2 separate regions of the Homo sapiens genome follow, and region 2 is linked to region 1. The links are contacts of gene promoters, found by promoter capture Hi-C in blood cells and fetal thymus (Javierre and others, 2016). All regions are on one chromosome and are shown on one strand. The core of a region is centred on a gene start or on the middle of the fragment in contact, and the rest is flanking DNA. Distances in the headings are between cores, read along the strand shown.

Evidence for each region. The method cuts DNA at HindIII sites, captures the fragments that hold promoters and counts their contacts. A CHiCAGO score of 5 or more calls a contact.
Region 2: a contact is called between the fragment with the promoter of LINC00665 here and the fragment with the promoter of ZNF382 in region 1, in 14 of 17 cell types (fetal thymus, total B cells, naive CD8 T cells and 11 more). The highest score is 17.5, in fetal thymus.

Annotation. Positions count from the first base shown.
Region 1 is chr19:36,603,212-36,607,782 of GRCh38, reverse strand. ZNF382 (zinc finger protein 382) reads right to left here and starts at 2,470. Exons shown (of 5, transcript NM_032825.5): 1 at 2,436-2,470; 2 at 161-231. It also overlaps a transcript of ZNF529 not described here. RefSeq lists enhancers at 2,019-2,078, 3,059-3,198 and a silencer at 2,439-2,498. The HindIII fragment of the contact is 5,073 bases long and covers 1-4,099 here.
Region 2 is chr19:36,329,450-36,334,020 of GRCh38, reverse strand. LINC00665 (long intergenic non-protein coding RNA 665) reads left to right here and starts at 2,303. Exons shown (of 6, transcript NR_038279.1): 1 at 2,303-2,574; 2 at 3,529-3,768. The HindIII fragment of the contact is 13,687 bases long and covers 2,066-4,571 here.

The DNA of each region.
Region 1 (4,571 bases), core at 1,221-3,720:
ACCTCATGCCACTTGCCTGCCTCAGCCTAATCTGGCCCTGACTGAAGACTAATTTCATGGAAGCAAATCCCAATATCAGGGAAGGTTAAAGGACAGTGAAGCTCATGTTCATACACCATGAAAAAAAGTTATTTCAGAAAGAGAGGAAACATCATCTCACCTGAGACATGGCTTTGAGATTTCTAGATGAACTTTCTCTTTTGAGCTCCTCTTTTGGAAAAAGAAACAGTCCTGAGAAAGCAAAGATGGAGGATATACGTATGTGAGACCATACTTGACTCAGAACTCCCAGAATTAACTCAGTTAAATCTGCATGAATGTTCACTATTTCAGCACTTGTCCACCCTGTGTACCCTTCAGATGTCCAGGATGGTAGTTAGTGGGAAAACAGACAAATCAGGCTCCCTCACAAACACCAGAAACCCAGTCTCTTGGTAAAGTATACAGGATTCTGGGGAACCTGTTTTAGCTTGAAGAGAGGGAACACTGTGTTTTTCCCTCTGCAGCTCTGCCTTCCATCTACCTCTAACCACAGGTTTACTGTGTATTTCCAAACGGTTCTTCTTGGACTTTTTGCCAATTTACACTGATAGTAGTGGATGAGAATACCTTCCCAAGCCCTGATGAAGACAGTTGACAACTTTTAAATCTTTGCCTATCTGGTCTATGTTGTAGTTGAGAATAATCTTTTTTTTTTTTTTTTTTGAGACAGAGTTTCACTCTTGTTGCCCAGGCTGGAGTGCAATGGTACAATCTTGACTGACCGCAACCTCCACCTCCCGGGTTCAAGCGATTCTCCTGCCTCAGCCTCCTGAGTAGCTGGGATTACAGGCATGCACCACCATGCCCGGCTAATTTTGTATTTTTAGTAGAGATGGGGTTTCTCCATGTTGGTCAGGCTGGTCTCGAATTCTCGATCTCAGGTGATCTGCCCACCTTGGCCTCCCAAAATGCTGGGATTACAGGCATCAGTCACTGCACCAGGCCCGCAAAATAACTATTTTAATTACTACAGTGAGACTGGACTTATTAAAAATCTATCAAATACTTTTTATTATCTTAGCAAGCCTAAGGGAGTAGGAAACCTCACTCATATACAAGTGTTGAAAGTGGTAGTTATGCCAGGCACAGTGGCTCACACCTGTAATCCCAGTACTTTGGCAGGCCGAGGGGGCGGGGGGAGGGGATCACTTGAGGTCAGGAGTTCAAGACCAGCCTGGGCAACATGGTGAAACCCCATCTCTACTAAAAATACAAAAACTAGCCGAGCGTGGTGGCACAAGCCTGTAGTCCCAGCTACTCAGGAAGCTGGGGCAGGAGAATCACTTGAACTTCAGAGGTAGAGGTGGCAGTGAGCAGAGATCATGCCACTACACTCCAGCCTGGGCAAAAGAGCAAGACCTTGTCTTAAAACAAACAAAAAACAACAACAAAAGTGGTAGTTATGGTAAAAAAAAAAAAAAAAAAAAAATTTCCTGCATGTCCCCAATGGAATGCTATTCATTTCAACATACTGGTTTTAGTTAATATGGTGTTTCCAGGAAATGAATCTGGGAATTATGAAAATCATCTCTTCCCCTCTGATACTGTTATCTCTATTTTATTTGCTAAATTGCTACTTAGTTACAGTTTTGGAGGCAGGCTTAATGGCTACTATTCAGATAATCAAGTCTTACATAACCAACTAGCCATGGTCATAACAGAGTTCCTCAATCATTCAAATATTTAGGTCACTAAGGCCACAAAACCACCAGAAGTAACAGTAGGTTACAAACACATGCAGAGTCACAGTCAATCAAACATCCTTCAGAGAACCACCAACCTACAGGCCCCACTTGTCATTCACAACCTCAGACAGCAGCTAACACGACTCCAGGCAGTCACAACCACACCTACAAATCACTTGCAATTCTCCACACTCAAAGGCAGTCTCAAATGCGACTCACACCTAATCTAAAAATAGACACACGCAGAGGAAACCTCGCGCAGCAACACTACTCCGTTCACTTTTCACACACAATCGGCCACAACATCCCAAAGAGAGGCAAGCACCTAAAATGCAGCAGGTTGGGCGCAGGAGGCCACCCCTATTCAGCGCGCGCCCGCGCGCGCGAACACACAGCGCCCGCTCCGCGCGGGGACCCGCCGCCAGCGATGGCGCTTCCGCGGGATCAGAACGGGCAAAATCCCCCTTCGCGGAGCTCGCTCCGGGTCACCCTCAAGGTCACGCCCATGGACCACGCCCGAGGCCCGGCTCGTACAGATCGGAGCGTCTGGATACCGCGGTCCCGGTTTCCTCCTCAGAATTTCCAGGCCCGGCTCGGACTCTTGGTTACCTCCCTGGCCTCCCCACCCGGTTCCGCGTCCTTAGACAGCTCTCCCGGAACGGAGCTCCCAGTGCCCTCCTTGGCCTCCTCAGCACCCCTGGCACCCACCAAGCCTCACCCCCGGCCCAGGGTGAGTCGTCTGCGCCTGCGCACTCGCGCGTGGGCCTGAGCTCCCAGGAGTCTCCGGGGCGGCCCGTTAGTCGCCGCGCGGTGCTAGCTGCCGGCGCTCCCCTCCGTTTGCACCCACGGCCGCCCTATTGCGGCTGGCACTACGCTTCTGCCAGGACCCCGGCTCCCTTTTCCGTTGACCTGGTGTTCGTTTTCCATGTGGTGAGTTGAGGTGACCCGGGTCTGGATGCGAGAAGAGCTCACGGCAGGGGACCTGGGTTCATGGGACGCGGAGAGGGTTTGTGGAGGCAGAAGCCCCAGGCCTGTGTGCAAGTCACCTGCTGGGGAGGGAGACTGTGTGATTGTGTTTGTGTGTGCCGTTCTGTGGCTGCGTCCGTGTGTGGTGGTGTGAGTGGGCGCGCCTGTGATGGTCCCGGGGGGGCGGGGGGTGTGCACAGCAGGGGGTGTGTGTGCACAGCAGGTGCACAGCCCGGGACAGCCCTGACTGTCCCCGATTGGGCCCGCGGGACTGAGTGGGGGCGGGGCCGTTTGTGTGACGGCGCTGAGCGGTGACTATGAATGTGTCATGCTGTTATCAGTGATCCTGTGACAGCGCTGTTGTGACCCACTGGAGACTGTGATCAAAACTGGCCTGGTGCAGCTTTTGTAGAGTTTGATTTCTGCAGTTCTGGGGCTCAGGAATACGTGGACAAGGTCCCCGTATGGCTCGATCTGTGTCTGTGAAGACTCTGAGACCTTCTGTTCTAAAGCATGGCCCCTGTCGCTTTCATAATGCATAATACACAGTGGCATGCAGCCTCGCCAACCTCTGGGGCCAATTTTAAGTTACGTGGTTTCTTGGAGTTTGTTATACTGGGATTTCTTTCACTGCCTCAGTCATTTCACCTTATAACCACGTTGCACAGTGTGCAGTCAAATGGCTATCGAAAAGAAAGTTGGATATTTGAGATCCAGAATGAAGTTTCCAACTGAAAAAGCACAGCCTTGTGTTTCACATGGACAAGGCTGTGTTCTGATATGCACAGCCTCGTGTTTGATATGGAGATGTTAGAGCTGGAATTGCTCCCAAGGCAAGGTTCTGGGAAGATATGATATTGAGGCCCCAGGAGTAGGATTCGTTTCTCCAAAGATTTTGTGTGTGTGTGTGAGATGGAGTTTTGCTCTTGTTGCCCAGGCTGGAGTGCAGTGGCGCAATCTCGGCTCATTGCAACCTCCGCCTTCCGGGTTCAAGCAATTCTCCTGCCTCAGCCTCCCGAGTAGCTGGGATTACAGGCATGCACCACCATGCCCGGCTCATTTTTGTATTTTTAGTAGAGACGGGGTTTCACCATGTTGGTCAGACTGGTCTCGAACTCCTGACCTCAGGTGATCCACCCGCCTCGGCTTCCCAAAGTGCTGGGATTACAGGCGTGAGCCACCGTGCCTAGCCAAAAGATCCCTTTTGGAAGCTCTGTGGGGGCAAGTTGAATATTGCAGATCCACAGCATTTTCATAGCTGTCTAAAGGAAATTATTGTGAATACAGAAACATTTCAGTCCCAGGCTTTGGTGAACCTGACTTTTCTTTATGAAGGGAAGAGTCAACAATATTCCAGTCTTTCTCATACTTCCATCTGGTCATATTCAGCATGGGTTATGGAAGCTTGCCGGTGGTGAAGAATGTGTTCTTATTTAGCCTGTCTGGGCTCCAAGAAAGGCTGAGTATATTGTGATTCCCTTTCTTTCCACATTTTGCTGTATTCCAAGAGAAGAGCTCTGAGAGAAGAAAAGCATTGTAGTTGCACATTTTAAAGCAAAGCTGGAGGTCATTTTGATTTTTTTCTTTGTTTTATGAAATGCATTTTTGTTTTTCAGGATGTGGAATAACTTCATTTGAAATGCTCACCAAATAGTGACTTATCTATTTACCTGGTCTCTAGTCCTTCTCTTCCCAGTTACTGATGACATTATGAAGACAGATCTCCTTCTTTCCAGTACCTCATCAGATGCCCTTCCTAGAGTTAATTTTCATATAACACCTTGACAGTATGTTCACTTCTCCTGTGTGCTCTTTTTGTTTAAGCATTCTCATGACATAGAAATAGTCTGCCTTCACACGGTGATTTGTTACGGAGGA
Region 2 (4,571 bases), core at 1,054-3,553, 270 kb after region 1:
GCTGCAGTAAGCTGTGATCATGCCACTGCACTCCAGCCTGAGTGTTGGAGTGAGACCCGGTTTCAAAAAAAAAAAAAATTATTACCTTGATTACAAGTGAGTCAAGCATCTGTTCATATGCGTTTATTGGCCAATCGTGTTTACTGTGCTTTTTAATGATGCCTTTGCTGTATTTTTTTTTGCATTCTCATTTATTGATTTTTCAGGATTCTTAAAATAGTTTAGTATCGGTCGGGTGCGGTGGCTCACGCCTGTAATCCCAGCACTTTGAGAGGCCAAGGCAGGTGGATCACCTGAGGTCAGGAGTTCAAGACCAGCCTGGCCAACATGGTGAAACCCCATCTCTACTAAAAATACAAAAATTAGCTGGGCGTGGTGGTGCTCACCTGTAATCCCAGCTACTCGGGAGGCTGAGGCAGGAGAATCTCTTGAACCCAGGAGGCAGAGGTTGCAGTGAGCCGAGATCGCGCCACTGCACTCCAGCCTGGGTGACAGAATGAGACTCCCTCTCAAAAAAAAAATTTTTTTTTTAGGTATTGATCATTTTAGGTATTAAACATTTATAACCTGACCTCAAGTTATCTGCCTGCCTCGACCTCCCAAAGTGCTGGGATTATAGGCATAAGCCACCAATTCTGGCCTCTTTTTCTCTCCAATTCTGAAGCTTCACCACAAAGCAGTCAGAAACCAGGGACAGTAAGCCAGGAAATGAGGAAAAGAACTGAAAAGGCAGAAGCCATCCATATTTTATTTCCTCCTCTGCCATCTTACCACACTCCTTCCCCTTCCCCCACAGCATGGCTGAACTAAGGGAGAGCAGAACCCTCATCTGTAAAAAATGCTTAAGGTTTCTTTTTCTTTCCCTCCCTCCCTCCCTTCCCTTCTGTGGGGAAAAGAGAGATCAGACTGTTACTGTGTCTATGTAGAAAGAAGTAGACATAAGAGATTCCATTTTGTTCTGTACTAAGAAAAATTCTTCTGCCTTGAGATGCTGTTAATCTGTAACCCTAGCCCCAACCCTGTGCTCACAGAGACATGTGCTGTGTTGACTCAAGGTTCAATGGATTTAGGGCTATGCTTTGTTAAAAAAGTGCTTGAAGATAATATGCTTGTTAAAAGTCATCACCATTCTCTAATCTCAAGTACCCAGGGACACAATACACTGCGGAAGGCCGCAGGGACCTCTGTCTAGGAAAGCCAGGTATTGTCCAAGATTTCTCCCCATGTGATAGCCTGAGATATGGCCTCATGGGAAGGGTAAGACCTGACTGTCCCCCAGCCCGACATCCCCCAGCCCGACACCCGAAAAGGGTCTGTGCTGAGGAGGATTAGTAAAAGAGGAAGGCCTCTTTGCAGTTGAGGTAAGAGGAAGGCATCTGTCTCCTGCTCGTCCCTGGGCAATAGAATGTCTTGGTGTAAAACCCGATTGTATGTTCTACTTACTGAGATAGGAGAAAACATCCTTAGGGCTGGAGGTGAGACACGCTGGCGGCAATACTGCTCTTTAATGCACCGAGATGTTTGTATAAGTGCACATCAAGGCACAGCACCTTTCCTTAAACTTATTTATGACACAGAGACCTTTGTTCACGTTTTCCTGCTGACCCTCTCCCCACTATTACCCTATTGGCCTGCCACATCCCCCTCTCCGAGATGGTAGAGATAATGATCAATAAATACTGAGGGAACTCAGAGACCAGTGTCCCTGTAGGTCCTCCGTGTGCTGAGCGCCGGTCCCTTGGGCTCACTTTTCTTTCTCTATACTTTGTCTCTGTGTCTCTTTCTTTTCTCAGTCTCTCGTTCCACCTGACGAGAAATACCCACAGGTGTGGAGGGGCAGGCCACCCCTTCAATAATTTACTAGCCTGTTCGCTGACAACAAGACTGGTGGTGCAGAAGGTTGGGTCTTGGTGTTCACCGGGTGGCAGGCATGGGCCAGGTGGGAGGGTCTCCAGCGCCTGGTGCAAATCTCCAAGAAAGTGCAGGAAACAGCACCAAGGGTGATTGTAAATTTTGATTTGGCGCGGCAGGTAGCCATTCCAGCGCAAAAATGCGCAGGAAAGCTTTTGCTGTGCTTGTAGGCAGGTAGGCCCCAAGCACTTCTTATTGGCTAATGTGGAGGGAACCTGCACATCCATTGGCTGAAATCTCCGTCTATTTGAGGCTGACTGAGCGCGTTCCTTTCTTCTGTGTTGCCTGGAAACGGACTGTCTGCCTAGTAACATCTGATCACGTTTCCCATTGGCCGCCGTTTCCGGAAGCCCGCCCTCCCATTTCCGGAAGCCTGGCGCAAGGTTGGTCTGCAGGTGGCCTCCAGGTGCAAAGTGGGAAGTGTGAGTCCTCAGTCTTGGGCTATTCGGCCACGTGCCTGCCGGACATGGGACGCTGGAGGGTCAGCAGCGTGGAGTCCTGGCCTTTTGCGTCCACGGGTGGGAAATTGGCCATTGCCACGGCGGGAACTGGGACTCAGGCTGCCCCCCGGCCGTTTCTCATCCGTCCACCGGACTCGTGGGCGCTCGCACTGGCGCTGATGTAGTTTCCTGACCTCTGACCCGTATTGTCTCCAGATTAAAGGTAAAAACGGGGCTTTTTCAGCCCACTCGGGTAAAACGCCTTTTGATTTCTAGGCAGGTGTTTTGTTGCACGCCTGGGAGGGAGTGACCCGCAGGTTGAGGTTTATTAAAATACATTCCTGGTTTATGTTATGTTTATAATAAAGCACCCCAACCTTTACAAAATCTCACTTTTTGCCAGTTGTATTATTTAGTGGACTGTCTCTGATAAGGACAGCCAGTTAAAATGGAATTTTGTTGTTGCTAATTAAACCAATTTTTAGTTTTGGTGTTTGTCCTAATAGCAACAACTTCTCAGGCTTTATAAAACCATATTTCTTGGGGGAAATTTCTGTGTAAGGCACAGCGAGTTAGTTTGGAATTGTTTTAAAGGAAGTAAGTTCCTGGTTTTGATATCTTAGTAGTGTAATGCCCAACCTGGTTTTTACTAACCCTGTTTTTAGACTCTCCCTTTCCTTAAATCACCTAGCCTTGTTTCCACCTGAATTGACTCTCCCTTAGCTAAGAGCGCCAGATGGACTCCATCTTGGCTCTTTCACTGGCAGCCCCTTCCTCAAGGACTTAACTTGTGCAAGCTGACTCCCAGCACATCCAAGAATGCAATTAACTGTTAAGATACTGTGGCAAGCTATATCCGCAGTTCCGAGGAATTCATCCGATTGATTATGCCCAAAAGCCCCGCGTCTATCACCTTGTAATAATCTTAAAGCCCCTGCACCTGGAACTATTAACTTTCCTGTAACCATTTATCCTTTTAACTTTTTTGCTTACTTTATTTCTGTAAAATTGTTTTAACTAGACCTCCCCTCCCCTTTCTAAACCAAAGTATAAAAGAAGATCTAGCCCCTTCTTCAGAGCGGAGAGAATTTTGAGCATTAGCCATCTCTTGGCGGCCAGCTAAATAAATGGACTTTTAATTTGTCTCAAAGTGTGGCGTTTTCTCTAACTCGCTCAGGTACGACATTTGGAGGCCCCAGCGAGAAACGTCACCGGGAGAAACGTCACCGGGCGAGAGCCGGGCCCGCTGTGTGCTCCCCCGGAAGGACAGCCAGCTTGTAGGGGGGAGTGCCACCTGAAAAAAAAATTTCCAGGTCCCCAAAGGGTGACCGTCTTCCGGAGGACAGCGGATCGACTACCATGTGGGTGCCCACAAAAATTCCACCTCTGAGTCCTCAACTGCTGACCCCGGGGTCAGGTAGGTCAGATTTGACTTTGGTTCTGGCAGAGGGAAGCGACCCTGATGAGGGTGTCCCTCTTTTGACTCTGCCCATTTCTCTAGGATGCTAGAGGGTAGAGCCCTGGTTTTCTGTTAGACGCCTCTGTGTCTCTGTCTGGGAGGGAAGTGGCCCTGACAGGGGCCATCCCTTGAGTCAGTCCACATCCCAGGATGCTGGGGGACTGAGTCCTGGTTTCTGGCAGACTGGTCTCTCTCTCTCTCTTTTTCTATCTCTAATCTTTCCTTGTTCAGGTTTCTTGGAGAATCTCTGGGAAAGAAAAAAGAAAAACTGTTATAAACTCTGTGTGAATGGTGAATGAATGGGGGAGGACAAGGGCTTGCGCTTGTCCTCCAGTTTGTAGCTCCACGGCGAAAGCTACGGAGTTCAAGTGGGCCCTCACCTGCGGTTCCGTGGCGACCTCATAAGGCTTAAGGCAGCATCCGGCATAGCTCGATCCGAGCCGGGGGTTTATACCGGCCTGTCAATGCTAAGAGGAGCCCAAGTCCCCTAAGGGGGAGCGGCCAGGCGGGCATCTGACTGATCCCATCACGGGACCCCCTCCCCTTGTTTGTCTAAAAAAAAAAAAAGAAGAAACTGTCATAACTGTTTACATGCCCTAGGGTCAACTGTTTGTTTTATGTTTATTGTTCTGTTCGGTGTCTATTGTCTTGTTTAGTGGTTGTCAAGGTTTTGCATGTCAGGACGTCGATATTGCCCAAGACGTCTGGGTAAGAACTTCTGCAAGGTCCTTAGTGCTGATTTTTTGTCACAGGAGGTTAAA